Linked DNA regions of Homo sapiens: region 2 is linked to region 1. Evidence: promoter capture Hi-C in 16 types of primary human blood cells and fetal thymus (Javierre and others, 2016). All regions are on one chromosome and are shown on one strand. The core of a region is centred on a gene start or on the middle of the fragment in contact, and the rest is flanking DNA. Distances in the headings are between cores, read along the strand shown.

Region 1 (7,553 bases), core at 2,465-4,964:
TGGAACAGGTCAGATCTGTAAAGGCGAATCCTGCCATGAATCACAACAGCAGTCCTGAGCCCTCTCAGCCAATGGACACAGCCTCCCCCTCCTCCAGGAAGCCCTCCCGGGCGTCACTGTTCTTACACTGACAGCACACATGCCACCTCGCTGCCTGACACTGCCCTGCCCTCCTCTCAGCCCAGGGACCACATCTCAATGCTGGACAGGCCCAACACATACACTTGGGGTCAACAAAACTACAGTACCAGGCCGGGCACGGTGGCTCACGCCTGTAATCCCAGCACTTTGGGAGGCCAAGGCAGGTGGATCACCAGGTCAAGAGATCGAGACCAGCCTGGCCAACATGGTGAAACCCCGTCTCTACCAAAATTAAAAAAATTAGCCAGGCGTGGTGGGGGGCGCCTGTAGTCCCAGCTACTCGGGAGGCTGAGGCAGGAGAATCGCTATAACCTGGGAGGCGGAGGTTGCAGTGAGCTGAGTTGGCACCACTGCACTCCAGCCTGGGCAACATAGTGAGACTCCGTCTCAAAAAAACAACAACAAAAAAAACCTACATGACTTTTTTTTTTTTTTCTCAGAAGGAGTCTCGCTCTGTTGCCAGGTTGGAGTGCAGTGACACGATCTCAGCTCACTGCAACCTCCACCTCCCGGGTTCAATTGATTCTCCTGCCTCAGCCTCCTGAGTAGCTGACATTACAGGCTCACACCACCATGCCTGGCTAATTTTTGTATTTTTAGTAGAGACGGGGTTTCACCACGTTGGCCAGGATGGTCTCGATCTCTTGACCTCGTGATCCGCCCACCTCGGCCTCCCAAAGTGCTGGGATTACAGGCATGAGCCACCACGCCCGACCTACAGTACCTTTTGAAAATTAAATCTGTAATACTGATTTACAGTATTTCAAAAATGTCTCATACTAAGTGCTGATAGAAGGTAAAATGAAACAGCAGCCGGGCAGTGTGGTACACACCTCTAATCGCAGCACGTTGAGAGGCTGAGGCGGCAGAATCACTTGAGCCCAGGAGTTGCAGGCTGCAGTCAGTGAGCTCCGATTGCACCACTGTGCTCTAGCTGGAGTGACAGAGCAAGACCCCCATCTCTAAAGGAAAAAAAAAGACACAGGGAGGAGAGAAGGTCATGTGACCACAGGCAGAAACTGGAGTGACAAAGTCACAAGCCAAAGGATGCCTGGAGCCACCAGGAGCTGGAAGAGGCAGGAAGGACCCTGCCTGGAGTCTCCAGAGGGAGCATGGCCCTGAGACACCCTGAGTTCCAGCGCTGGACTCTGGAACTGAGAGGAGACACCTCTGCTGCCGCGAGCTGCCCAGCAGGTGGTACTTTCACAGCAGCCCCAGGAAACTAATACACAAAGCCATGCATCAGCTTTTTTTTTTTTTTCCTTTTTTTTGAGACGGAGTCTCGCTCTGTCGCCCAGGCTGGAGGGCAGTGGCACGATCTCGGCTCACTGAAGCCTTCGGCTCACTGCAACCTCCGCCTCCTGGGTTCAAGTGATTCTCGTGCCTCGGCCTCCCCAGTAGCTGGGATTATAGGTGTGTGCCACCACACCCGGATAATTTTTTTGTATTTTTAGTACAGACAGGGTTTCACCATGTTGGCCAGGTTGGTCTCGAACTCCTGACCTCAGGTGCTCTACCCGCCTCCGCCTCCCAAAGTGCTGGGATTACACGCATGAGCCACCATGCCCGGCCCCAACTTTTAAAAATATTATAATTTTCTCAGAAAGCTAATCAGCTGGCTGGGAAAGGTGGCTCACGCCTGTAATCCCAGCATTTTGGGAGGCTGAGACGAGCGGATCACCTGAGGTCAGGAGTTCGAGACCAACCTGGCCAACATAGTGAAACCCCGTCTCTACTAAAAGTTAAAAAAAAAAATTAGCCTGGCATGGTGACGGGTGCCTGTAATCCCAGCTACTCGGGAGGCTGATGCAGGAAAATTGCTTGAACCCGAGAGGCAGAGGTTGCAGTGAGCCGAGAACATATCACTGCACTCCAGCCCAGGCAACAACAGTGAAACTCCATCTCAAAAAAAAAAAAAAAAGAAAGAAAAGAAAGCTAATCAGCTTAACAAGGCAAGAAAACTATTTGTGTACATTTTAAATCTGAGATACTGCTATGGCTAACTCTGACCTGAAATGGTAACTTCAAAAAAAATAGAACCTAAATAAGAAGGTTGTAATACCTGCTTAAAATAAAGGCAACACTATGCTCTCAAGGAATATGATGGAATCTTTCTCTTTTTTTGAGATGGAATCTGGCTCTGTCACCCAGGCTGGAGTGCAACGGTGCGACCTTGGCTCACTAAAACCTCCACCTCCCACGTTCAAGCGATTCTCCTGCCTCAGCCTCCCATGTAGCTGGGACTACAGGCGCCCACCACCACGCCCAGCTAATTGTTTTGTTTTGGTTTTTTTTTTTGAGATGGAGTCTCGCTCTGTCGGCCAGGATGGAGTGCAGTGGCGCCATCTCGGCTCACTGCAAGCTCCGCCTCCCAGGTTCACGCCATTCTCCTGCCTCAGCCTCCTGAGTAGCTGGGACTACCAGCGCCCGCCACCACACCCGGCTAATTTTTTGTATTTTTAGTAGAGACGGGGTTTCACCGTGTTAGCCAGGATAGTCGCGATCTCCTGACCTCATGATGCACCTGCCTCGGCCTCCCAAAGTGCTGGGATTACAGGCGTGAGCCACCACGCCTGGCCAGGATTGGTGTTAATTCTTAAAATGTTTGATAGAATTCAACAGTGAAGTGATATATACAATCATATACATATATAGAGAGAGACAGAGATGGACTTTTCTTTTGTTGGAAGTTTATTGACTATTGATTCAATTTCTTTATTGAAATTGACTTTTCTTTTTGGAAGCTAAAAAGTACAATAACTGTAGTGAAAGTTTCTGAACTTTTCTTTCATTGGAAGTTTTTTGACTACTGATTCTTTATTTGTTATAGGTCTATTCAGATTTTCTGTTTCTTCTTGAGTCAGTTTGGTCTCGCTCTGTCACCCAGGCTGGAGTGCAGTGGCGCCATCTTGGCTCACTGCAACTTCTACCTCCCGAGTTCGAGTGATTCTCCCACCTCAGCCTCCCCAGTATCTCGGACTACAGGCGCACGCCAGCATACCTGGCTAATTTTTGCATTTTTAGTAGGAACGGGGTTTCACCATGTTGGCCAGGCTGGTCTCGAACTCCTGGCCTCAAGCAATCTGCCCGCCTCGGCCTCCCAAAGTGTTGGGACTACAGGTGTGAGCCACCGCGCCCGGCCTTCAGCTACTCCATTTTTTAACATTTTGCCGCATTTGTTTACATCAAGCAATATGATAGAATCCCTAACCAGTTACTTTTTGCTTAAAAGCTGTACTAGGCCAAAACAAGCGAAGCACCCGTCTGTGTGAGGCAGCGGGTCTGGCTTACAGGCGGCGCCTCAGGGCTCGCTCCCCCTCCGAGCGGGTCTCACTCCCAGAGCGGGGCTCGCCCGGTGTCTGGCCTCCGAGGCCGTGTGCCCAAGTCCCCACCTTGTGCGGCACAGGCCCTTCCCACAGGGGACACTCACGGAAGCTGAACGGACCTTCCCACAGGAGACACTCACGGAAGCTGAACGGACCTTCCCACAGGGGACACTCACGGAAGCTGAACGGACCTTCCCACAGGGGACACTCACGGAAGCTGAACGGACCTTCCCACAGGGGACACTCACGGAAGCTGAACGGACCGACGGAGGTGGCGTGGATGAGCAGCAGCCGCCTGAGCAGTGAGGAAACCCCGCGGACAGCGCGGTAAGGACCCCACCCAGATTACTGGATTTCACCACCGGCCGCCTTCGATGGAGGAGTCCTCAGTCTCCACATCCGCACGGCACAGACGGAGGGGGGGCCCATGGGGCCCCAGCGATGAACCTGTCAGGGGTCCCCTGTACCCTGTAGGCCAGTCAAGCCATCCTTCCCAGCCCTTGCCCCGGGGGCTGAGCGCAGGGGAGGGCCCGGAAGGCAGACGCCACGGAGCCCGGGGCTTCAGGGGGGCGTGGGGCGGAAGCGGGGCCAGGGCGGAGGTCACGGACAGGGTCATCCGGACCCACAAGGAGTCTCAGCCCCGGGCCCGGCGGGAGGGAAGGGGGAAGCCAGGCTCTTCCTCCTAGGGCAGGGCCTGGGCTCCGGGGCAGTGTGACCTCCCGCCCCTAAGCGAGTCCTGCCTCCCCATGAGACCTGAGCTCCTCCAGCGTGGGTGGGAGGCGGACAGAGCCTCCCCCAGAGAAGGCCCTCCTCGGTCCAGCGCTCGGCCAGGACAGGCGCCAAGGCCGCCTTAAGAAATAAAACCAGCAGGCGCGGTGGCTCACGCCTGTAATCCCAGCACTTTGGGAGGCCGAGGCGGGCGGATGGTGAGGTCAGGAGATCAAGACCATCCTGGCTAACATGGTGAAACCCCGTCTCTACTAAAAAATACAAAAAAAAATTAGCCGGGCGTGGTGGGGGCGCCTGCAGTCCCAGCTACTCGGGAGGCTGAGGCAGGAGAATGGCGGGAACCCGGGGGGCGGAGCTTGCGGTGAGCCGAGATGGCGCCACTGCACTCCAGCCTGGGCGGCAGAGCGAGACTCCGCTTCAAAAAAAAAAAAAAAAAAAAAAAGAAAAAGAAAAAAAAAAAAGAAAGAAAACTCCATGATTCATGAGGTAAGACCTGGGAGCTGGCGGCTCGGTGCTCCGGTGCTGCAGAGGCACTCAAGGGGCTCTCCACGTTCGCCTTCCACGTTCCCCTTCGCAGGGACCGCAGCGCCTGGGGCACTTCGCCATGGGCTTGGCCGAAGTGGGCACTAAAGGTGCAGACTCGGTGGAGCCAAGGGGGGCAAGGTCAGCAGCCCTGGGGGCGCAGCCCTGGGGGCCCCGCCGTGGGCCACGCCCAGCGCGTCCAGTCCTCATGGCCGCGTCTATTCCAGGAATGGGGTCCTGGGGTTCGGCACAGGCCTGCTGGGGTGGTGGCCCCACATCTTGCCTGTGTCCCCCCATATTATGCCCAAGGGAGCAACAAAGGCCACCCCTGGGTCCAGGCCTCAGGAGCTCACAGGAGCCCTGAGCCCAGAAGACAGCAGCGCCCTCACGCGGTCCTCAGCAAACCTGCCAGAGCCCAGCAGGTGGAGAGGACTCCGGGAGACAGCAGGAGCTCCGCGACCTCCCTTCCTCTCCCCTCTTCTCCCTTACGAAGTTAGCCGTGTGGTGGCCAGTGTGGCTTAACTCAATGATACAATTTTAAAGATTTCTGGAAAGGACTTAAAAGACACGTGCTTAACTCTGAGAAAAGATTTCAAGGCCAGGCCAGAATGGTGGCTCATGCCTGAAATCCCAACGCTGAGGGAAGCCGGGGCGAGCAGATGGCTTGAGCCCAAAAGTTCAAGACCAGCCTGGGCAACATGGTGAGACCCCATCTCTACAAAAAATAGAAAAAATTAGCCGGGCATGGTGGTGCACACCTGTAGTCCCCGCGACTCTGGAGGATGAAGTGGGAGGATCCCTTGAGTCGGGAGGTCGAGGTTGGAGTGAGCCAAGATGGCACCACTGTACTCCGGCATGGGTGACACAGCAAGGCCCTCTCTCAAAAAAAAAAAAAGAAAAGAAAACTCTAAATACATGGAACTGGCAAACATTAACGTAATGTCAATTACAAAGGTGGCCGTGACACAGGAGGCCCAGAGTGGGGCGGCCCTTGAAGCAGCCTGCAGCGTGGGGATGAGGCCTACAGATGCCTCTGCCTCTTTGACTAATTCCACTTCTGAGACTCTGCCCCAAGGAAATAACCCAAAAAGCTAATTGGTTCCAAGATGTTCCAAGCACTGCTATGGCTAACAGTGACAAACAGAAAAAGACCCAAACACTCGACAATTCGAAGATGGCCCAGAAAACCGTCAAGTATTAAAACTGAGCAAAACCCAATTCCAGGAACATTAAAAATGCCAGTCACGTGGATGCTTAGAAGTTTATCAGAAATTAACGGGAAGAAATGAGAACAGAAAGCCCAGCTGGTCGTGTCTGCACAAGCTCACACACACCGACCACACTCAGGATAGGCACCAAAACCCCCCTTCCCCTCGCAAACCAAGGTCCTTATTCATAAAACACAAATGTAATCCTAGCACTTTGGGAGGCTGAGACAGGTGGATCATATGAGATCAGGAGTTTGAGACCGTCCTGGCCTACATAACGAAACTCTGTCTTTACTAAAAATATTAAAATTAGCTGGGCGTGGTGGCACGCACCTATAATCCCAGCTACTAGGGAGGCAGAGGCAGGAGAATCGTTTGAACATGGGAGGCAGAGGTTACAGTGAGCCAAAATTGTGCCACTGCACTCCAGTCTGGGCAACAGAGTGAGACTCTGTCTCAAAAAACAAAAAAATAAATAAAAATAAAACACAAACGCGAGAACGTGCCCACCAGCACAGATGCAGGGTAGGATGACGCCACAGGAAATCAGCACCCAGGAGGTGAACAGAGCGCGAACATGAGAGCAATCTACGTTTCTCTTTCCTCACTCCTACGAGGAGCTCCAGCAGCAGAGCCGGAGAGCACCAGCTGGCGTCCAGGCTCCACTCTCTTTCCTCACTCCTACGAGGAGCTCCAGCGGCAGAGCCGGAGAACACTGGAGAGCACCAGCCGGCGTCCGTGTTCCACTCTCTTTGACTTTTCACAAACCCAACAGGCAGGCGAAGAGTCTGCCTCTCTGGGTCCCAGAACCCCACAGGATGGGCATGAGCCCCACCCCGCCCAGCCCACAGAGGCGAGTCTGGGTCCCAGAACCCCACAGAATGGGCATGAGCCCCACCCCGCCCAGCCCACAGGGGCGAGTCTGGGTCCCAGAACCCCACAGGATGGGCATGAGCCCCCCTAGGGGCAAGAGACGACAACAGGTGGACAAGATGCGAGCCACCAGCCCACTAGGACCTCGGAGCTGCCATGGGGTGGGTCTCCCTGAAGAAGAGTCAAGCAGCCTTCCTCTCCCCAGCCCCACCCCACCTCTCATACAGAAGACACTACAGCCCCAGGCCTCCCAGCTTCTGACTTCCAGGAGCAGAAGTAAGTTCTTCCACAGGGCAGGAGGGGCCCTGGAAGGATACGACTGTCACCTCCTCTGAAAGTATTTCCAGGAAGCCCACTGTGCTCATAGCCATAGGCAACGCAGAGAGCAGGAAGATCTCGGGGGTGCAGAGAGGGGGTGGCCCATAGGTGACGCAGACAACTGACCCTGACCCCTGGGCCCAGCAGAGATCTGCACGTGTGAGGGTCAGCTCTGAGCTGGGCGACGGGCCAGCCGGCTCACCTTGCAGCCAGGTGAGCTCTACCCCGCTGGGAAGAGAGCTGCTGCTGTCTGACTCCCTGCCACATGAGGACTCAGGACTCACTGGGCAGGTGAGCCATGGTGCAGGAACAAACCCCTTTCATCCAACTCTGCCATAAGACAAAATGTTAGAATCACAGTCCCTGTCACTAAGTAGCACATCTATTTCACCAACTCCCACTTTTCTGCCAGGTCTGGCTCATACATCGTTCAGAC
Region 2 (7,553 bases), core at 1,800-4,299, 93 kb after region 1:
ATTTGGCATCACCAGGAAGAGCCCTGTACAAGGTGCTGGTGGTTTTATCCTTAGAGCCCAGATGTGAGGTGCTCACGTGTGTGCCTGGGGTTAGCAGTTGGTGTTTGTTGAATGAATGACTAAAATGCAGTGGGGCGGGGAGTCATGATAAGGTAGAATTTTATCTGAGGTGGAGTTTGCTTCTGAAATCAGGCAGTAAGGTGAATGTGATACCCAGTTAGGAGTATGTAATGCTGCAGGTAAACTGTAACAGCAAATGAAAGCAGTATTTCTCCAGGAAGGAAACAGACCCCTGGGTCCTCGGGCTGGGTTGGAAAAAGCCATTTGTAGAGAAATGGAACATGGTGGCTAGCCCTGCACAAGACATAGAGAAGAGACCCTTAACACTCCAGTTATCTCCAAGTGGGCAGTTAGAATGAGTGCTTCTAGGCCGGGCACGGTGGCTCACACCAGTAATCCCAGCACTTTGGGAGGCCGAGGCGGGCAGATCTTGAGATCGAGAGATCGAGACCATCCTGGCCAACATGGTGAAACCCTGTCTCTACTAAAAATACAAAAATAGCTGGGTGTGGTGGCGGGCACCTGTAATTCCAGCTACTAGGGAGGCTGAGGCAGGAGAATTGCTTGAACCCGGGAGGCAGAGGTTGCAGTGAGCTGAGATAGCACCACTGCACTCCAGCCTGGGCGACAGAGCGAGACTCCCTCTCACAACAAACAAACAAACAAACTGCAGTGCTTCTAAGGTGAGACTCATCGTGATGTTCTGATTAGAACGTTCTCGTGCCACAAAGTCCTGAGATGTGTCCAAGAAGCACCGTCTTCTGTCAGACACACCTCCTGCCCCGCCATAGGCCTTCCCACTGTGGCAGCAGAATCTGTGCTAGGCCTTCCTTCGTGAAAGAGGACAAGATCAGGGCTCACGTGACTGGGGCCGCTGTGACTCTGAGCCTCTGCGTTCTGTCAGATGAGGGTAGTGGTGCTTCCCCTGCGTCCTGCTGGGAGAAAAAAGGAGGCAGTAAATGAAAGGTGTCTCATCACCTGCTTCCTAAATAGAAGGGACAAAGAGGCTGAAAAACAGTAATAGTCTTGTTTTATGAAAATGCCACCCCTAATCTAGGAGCTGGGACTGCCATGCCAGGACCCCTCAGATAATGACATCCCTGAAGAGGATTAGCAGCTAGTCTGTTATCAGTCACAGGCAGTTCAACCCAGAAGATTTAAGGATTAGATTACCCAACAACCTTGAGTGTAGATTTTGTCTCTCATCACCCTTTGCATTAACTTTGGGTGCATGTGTGTTAATGAGGAAGTGTGTTCTGCTTTATTCTTGGTACATCACAGACATTTAATAGATACAGGTCATTAGAAATAAAAATTGTTTTAACTTGTATGAGTTTTGCAAGCATTGATATTTCAAATTGAAATTGCAGAAATTAGGACAGCATTTCATTTTCTTTTGTTTTTTTGAGACGGAGTCTCATTCTCTCACCCAGGCTGGAGTGCGGTGGCGTGACCTTGGCTCACTGCAACCTCTGCCTCCTGGGTTCAAGTGATTCTTCTGCCTCAGCCTCCCGAGTAGCTGGGACTACAGGCGGTCGCCACCACGCCAGGCTAATTTTTTGTATTTTTAGTAGAGACAGGGTTTCGCGGTGTTAGCCAGGATGGTCTCGATCTCCTGACCTTGTGATCCGCCCATCTTGGCCTCCCAAAGTGCTGGGATTGCAGGTGTGAGCCACTGCGCCTGGGCTTTTTTTTTTTTTTTTTTTTGGTTGGGGGACGGAGTCTCACTCTGTCACCCAGGCTTGAGTACAACGGTACGGTTTCCGCTCATGGCAACCTCTGCCTCCTAGGTTCAAGTGATTCTCCTGCCTCAGCCTCCTGGGTTGCTGGGATTACAGGCGCCTGCCATGACACCCGGCTAATTTTTGTATTTTTAGTAGAGATGGGGTTTTGCCATGTTGGCCAGGCTGGTCTTGAACTCCTGACCTCAGGTGATCCACCCACTTTGGCCTCCCAAAGTGCTGGGATTATAGGCGTGAGCCACTGAGCCCAGCCCCAAGTTGGTCTTGAGCTCCTGGACTCAAGTGATCGTCCAACCAGCATCTCATTTTCTAAAGAAAGAAGTACTTAGACCAGGTTTGGGACATGTCTCTGAAAATTCTGGGCTGGTGCAGTGGCTCATGCCTGTAATCCCAGCACTTTGAGAGGCCGAGGCAGGCGGATTGCTAGAGTCCAGAAGTGAAGACCAGGCTGGGCAACATAGCAAAACCCCATCTGTACTAAAACTAGAAACAATTAGCCGGGTATGGTGACATGCAGCTGTAGTCCCAGCTACTCGGAGGCTGAGGTGGTAGGATCACCTGAGCCTGGGAGGCTGAGGCTGCAGCAAGCCATGATTGCTCCACTGCACTCCAGCCTGGGCGACAGAGCAAGACACTGTCTCAAAAAAAAAAAAAAAAAAAAAAAGGAAGTTCTGTATTGATCAATAATTTCCTCCTCAGGACAGACCTGCATATGCCACAATTTAACTTTGTTGCAACATCATTCTACATTTTGCATGAATGGTTTCAAAAAACTTATTTCTATGACAGAGAACTTTGTCATTTATTCTTGACATATTAAACCTGAGTGACATTTTTAAATTTTTGTGTTGTGTTGTGAGTGCTTAGTGAAGATTCCTTGAATATGGATGTGAATGAATCTTATTTTTCATGGGTTTATAATTGTATTGTCCCTTTAAATATTCTACATTGAACATGTATCACCAGCAGAAATAATCATTTACGAGGTGAAGTGTCCAGAGCCATGTAGTGTCTGCATTGCTGTGTCCAGGGATTCTTTGTTTGTTTGAGACGGAGTCTCGCTCTGTCATCCAGGCTGGAGTGCAGTGGCACGATCGTGTCTCACTGCCGCTTCCACCTCCCGGGTTCAAGTGATTCTTCTGCCTCAGCCTCTTGAGTAACTGGAATTACAGGCGTGTGCCACCACGCCCAGCTAATTTTTGTATTTTTAGTAGAGATGGGGTTTCACCATGTTGTCCAGGCTGGTCTCAAACTCCTGAACTCAAGTAATCAACCCACCTTGGCCTCCCAAGGTGCTGGGTTTACAGGCATGAGCCACTGTGCTCAATCTGCGTTCTGAGGCATTCTGTGCCTGTTATGAAATCATGATGCTGGCAGGTCGGAAGATGGAATCGACTTCCCAGCCCCATCGGCTGTGCCCTGCCCTCCTTGCTGTCTCTAGAGCGCGGCTGACTTCGGGGAGAGCTCTCCCTGCCCTGTGCCTCTATTTTTTCACCAGGTAGGGTGGAAATGTGTTCTAGTGAAACTGCAGAACGAAAATATCCCGTCTTACTCTTGACCCTTGAAGAAGCAGGAGCTGAATTCAGGTGCCAGAGGCTGCGTCCGCGCGCTCCACATCAGTCTCAGAGTGGAGGCGAGCCCAGGCCAGAGGCCTCTACCCCGGACGAGGCTGCAGGTGCCTGACGGGAGGAGTGACTGCAGCTCAGCAGAGGGAGTGTGTGGAGTGTGCGGCCCTGCCTGGCTTTTATTTTGCTCCTCCTGTTATTGGGAGGGATTAGCAGCAGAGCGAATGTTTGGATCTTTGCTGAGCAGTCCCATCGGATTTTTCTTTATTAAATAGGATTGTGTTTTATTGTAAGAAGGTTTCCCTAAGACAAATAACGAAGGAAATTCTGGGTCCAGGAGTACAGACTGTAGCTTCTGTCATCTCTTGCCAAGTTCGTAGCCCTCAGATGGTGTCTGTCTTTCCCCTTTGCTTGCGGGGCCTTTTACCACAGCACTTTGGTGTTCTTTTAGCTGCTGCGATAGGACTAGCTGTTAAAATCTGAGATTTTACATTTTTGCCAGTCGCAATAAATTTTGTTAGTTCTTTCTTGATGTGTTCTTTAAAATAATAATGCTTTTTTTTTTTGGGTGGGGGACAGAGTCTTGTGCTGTCGCCCAGGCTGGAGTGCAGTGACGCGATCTCGGCTCACTGCAAGCTCCGCCTCCCGGGTTCACGCCATTCCCCTGCCTCAGCCTCCCGAGTAGCTGGGACTACAGGCGCCCGCCACCACGCCCGGCTAATTTTTCGTATTTTTAGTAGAGATGGGGTTTCACCGTGTTAGCCAGGATGGTCTCGATCTCCTGACCTTGTGATCCGCCCAGCTCGGCCTCCGAAAGTGCTGGGATTACAGGCGTGAGCCACTGCTCCTGGCCTCATCTTTTTTTTTTTTTTTTTTTTTTTTGAGACGGAGTTTCACTCTTGTTTCCCAGGCTGGTGGAGTGCAACGGTGTGATCTTGGCTCACCGCAACCTCTGCCTTCTGGGTTCAAGTGATTCTCCAGCCTCAGCCTCCTGAGTAGCTGGGATTACAGGCGTGTGCCACCACACCCAGCTAATTTTGTATTTTTAGTAGAGATGGGGTTTCTCCATGTTGGTCAGGCTGGTCTCGACCTCCCAACCTCAGGTGATCCACTCACCTCGGCCTCCCAAAGTGCTGGGATTACAGGCGTGAGCCAACGCACCTGGCCTCATCTTGTTTTTTTTTTTTTTTTTTGAGACAGAGTCTTGCTCTGTCGCCCAGGCTGGAGTGCAGTGACTCAGTCTCGGCTCACTGCAAGCTCTGCCACCTGGGTTCATGCCATTCTCCTGCCTCAGCCTCCCGAGTAGCTGGGACTACAGGCACCCGCCGCCACGCCCAGCTAATGTTTTTTGTATTTTTAGTAGAGACGGGATTTCATCGTGTTAGCCAGGATGGTCTCGATCTCCTGACCTCGTGATCTGCCCACCTCGGCCTCCCAAAGTGCTGGGATTAGAGGCGTGAGCCACCGCGCCCTGCCACATCCTGTTTTTTTTACAACAGGGTGTCACTCTGTCTCTCACCCAAGTTAGAGAGGAGTGACACAGTCTTAGCTCACTGCATTCTCCCAGGCCCAAGCAATCCTCCTATCTCAGCCTCCCAAGTAGCTGGGACTTTAGGTATGTGTCACCACAGTTGACTAATGTTTTAATTTTTGTAGAGATGGGGCCTCCACATGTTGCCCAGGTTGGCCTTCCTGGGCTCGATCCTCCTGCCTCAGCCTCCCAAGGTGGTGCATGCCTACAGTCTCAGTAGATTAGAATCACCCTAACCCTCAGTAACTGAGATTGTAGGCACGCACCACCTCACTGACTCACCTCAAACTCTCTTTTTTGAGATGGAGTCTCTGTCACCAGACTGGAGAGCAGTGGTGCGATCTTGGCACACTGCAACCTCCGCCTCCTGGGTTCAAGCGATTCTCCTGCCTCAGCCTCTGTAGCAGCTGGGACTACAGGCATGCGCCACTACGCCCGGCTGATTTTTGTATTTTTTAGTAGAGACGGGGTTTCACCATGTTGGCCAGGATGATCTCGATCTCTTGACCTCATGGTCTGCGCACCTTGGCCTCCCAAAGTGCTGGGATTACAGGTGTGAGCCACTGCGCTCGGCCCATCTCAAACTTTTAATAAGGCTCTTCGTATAGAAATTTTTAAAAAATTAAAAACATTTTTGGCCAGGCTTAGTGGTTTAAGCCTGTAATCCCAGTGCTTTGGGAGGCCAAGGCAAGCAGATTACATGAGGCCAGGAGTTTGAGACTAGCCTGGCCAACATGGCGAAACCACGTCTCTACTAAAAATACAAAAATTTGGGCAGGTGCAGTGGCTGACACCTGTAACCCCAACACTTTGGGAGGCTGAGGTGGATAGATCTCTCGAGTTCAGGAATTTGAGACCAGCCTGGGTAACATGAGGAAACCCCATCTCTGCAGAAAATACAAAAGTTAGCTGGGCGTGGTGGTGCATGCCTGTGGTCCCAGCTACTCGAGAGGCTGAGGTCAGGCTGAGGTGGGAGGATCCCTGGAGCCTGGGAAGCGGAGGTTGCAGTGGGGGATGAAAAAGAATACCCCGTGTCCAAATAGCAAAACACTCTGAAATGAGGCAAACCGTGGTTTGTTGAACAGGTGTTCTGGGACAAGGTTGCCGAATATGCATTAGCCGTAATCCCCAGGACAGCCATGCAGGGTGGGTCTTAAACAGTTTTTTAGATTCTCGAGTATAAAGGTATAATATTGAAGAATAAGCACAAATAATGTCATCATACATGTTAAAGTGACAACACAGGATTTACAAAATTACCCTTTTTTCCCCAAAATTACCTCTTACGATGTGGTTTCTGTTGGTGCTGTTTTCTCTTGCATCATCCCGCCAGGTTGGGTAACCCTAACTGATTGTCACCAGCAGACCAACAGACAGACTCACAGCATCCTTCTCCCTGGTGTGAGCACTGCTTAATTCACATTTATGAAAATACTTTAAGACAAGGGCACTGTAACTCACATAGAATCTGAAGTGGCCTTGAACAGGGAGCTGGTCCAGCTGCCTCTTAGTGTGTCTGACCTCCAGGTGGGCGGACTGAGATGCGTGCAGGTGTTCATGGTATAGGCATCCTTGTAAACCTGCTCTGGTTAAGGATAAATAGGCAAAGTTGTGCTAATGCTGTTCCTACAGCAGCCTTTGCCCTGGACTGACTCCAGAACAGCTGGCTGACTGACAGCTGCCTCCCAGTAAAGCCTTAAACAGGCTTATCTTATATTTTTAAAAGGCAAAGGACAATAAGGCAGATTAATAAACTGTGGGGGTTTTTTTGTTTGTTTTTGTTTTTCTTGAGACAAAGTCTCGCTGTTGTACCCCAGGCTGGAGTGCAACGGCGCGATCTCGGCTCACTGCAACCTCTGCCTCTCGGGTTCAAGCGATTCTCCTGCCTCAGCCTCCAGAGTAGCTGGGATTACAGGTGCCCGCCACCACGCCCGGCTAATTTTTGTATTTTTAGTCTAGACGGGGGTTTCACCATGTTGGCCAGGCTGGTCTCGAACTCCTGACATCAGGTGATCCGCCTGCCTCGGCCTCCCAAAGTGTCAGGATTATAGGGTGAGCCACCGTGCCTGGCTTTTTTTTTTTTTTCCTGTCTTTTGTGTATGTGATGGGGTCTCGCTCTTGTCGCCCAGGCTGGAGTGCCATGGCACGATCTCGGCTCACTGCAACCTCTGCTTCCCGGGTTCAAGTGACTCTCCTGCCTCAGCCTCCTGAGTAGCTGGAACTGCAGGTGTGCACCACCATGCCCGGCTAATTTTTGTATTTTTACTAGAGATGGGGTTTCACCATGTTGGCCAGGCCGATCTCGACCTCCTGACCTCAAGTGATTGACCCACCTCAGCCTTCCAAAGTACTGGGATTGCAGGTGTGAGCCACCACACCCGGGGCTGGATTTTTTTGTTTTAAGAGACAAGGTCTCACACTCTTGCCCAGGCTGGTTTACAGTGGTGCAGTCACTGCAGCCTTCACCTCTGGGCTCGAGTGATCCTCCCACCTCAGGTTACAGGTGTGAGCCACCACACATGACCGCACATGGCAGATTTTTTTTTTTTTTTTTTCACGGAGTCTGGCTCTTGTCACCCAGGCTGGAGTGCAATGATGTGATCTCAGCTCTCACTGCAACCTCCGCCTCCTGGGTTCAAGCAATTCTCCTGCCTC

Evidence for each region. The method cuts DNA at HindIII sites, captures the fragments that hold promoters and counts their contacts. A CHiCAGO score of 5 or more calls a contact.
Region 2: a fragment that was not itself captured here is called in contact with the fragment with the promoter of ZBTB46-AS1 in region 1 in 1 of 17 cell types (monocytes); the score reaches 5.4 in monocytes.

What each region holds. Positions count from the first base shown.
Region 1 is chr20:63,804,362-63,811,914 of GRCh38, forward strand. It overlaps ZBTB46-AS1 (ZBTB46 antisense RNA 1), which reads left to right and starts at 3,715. Exons shown (of 3, transcript NR_110081.1): 1 at 3,715-3,794. All of the region lies in intron 1 of ZBTB46 (zinc finger and BTB domain containing 46), which reads right to left. The HindIII fragment of the contact is 29,160 bases long and covers 1-7,553 here.
Region 2 is chr20:63,898,134-63,905,686 of GRCh38, forward strand. All of the region lies in intron 1 of DNAJC5 (DnaJ heat shock protein family (Hsp40) member C5), which reads left to right. Among named protein-coding and RNA genes, the nearest start is that of DNAJC5, 6.8 kb to the left of the region's middle. The HindIII fragment of the contact is 9,931 bases long and covers 1-7,553 here.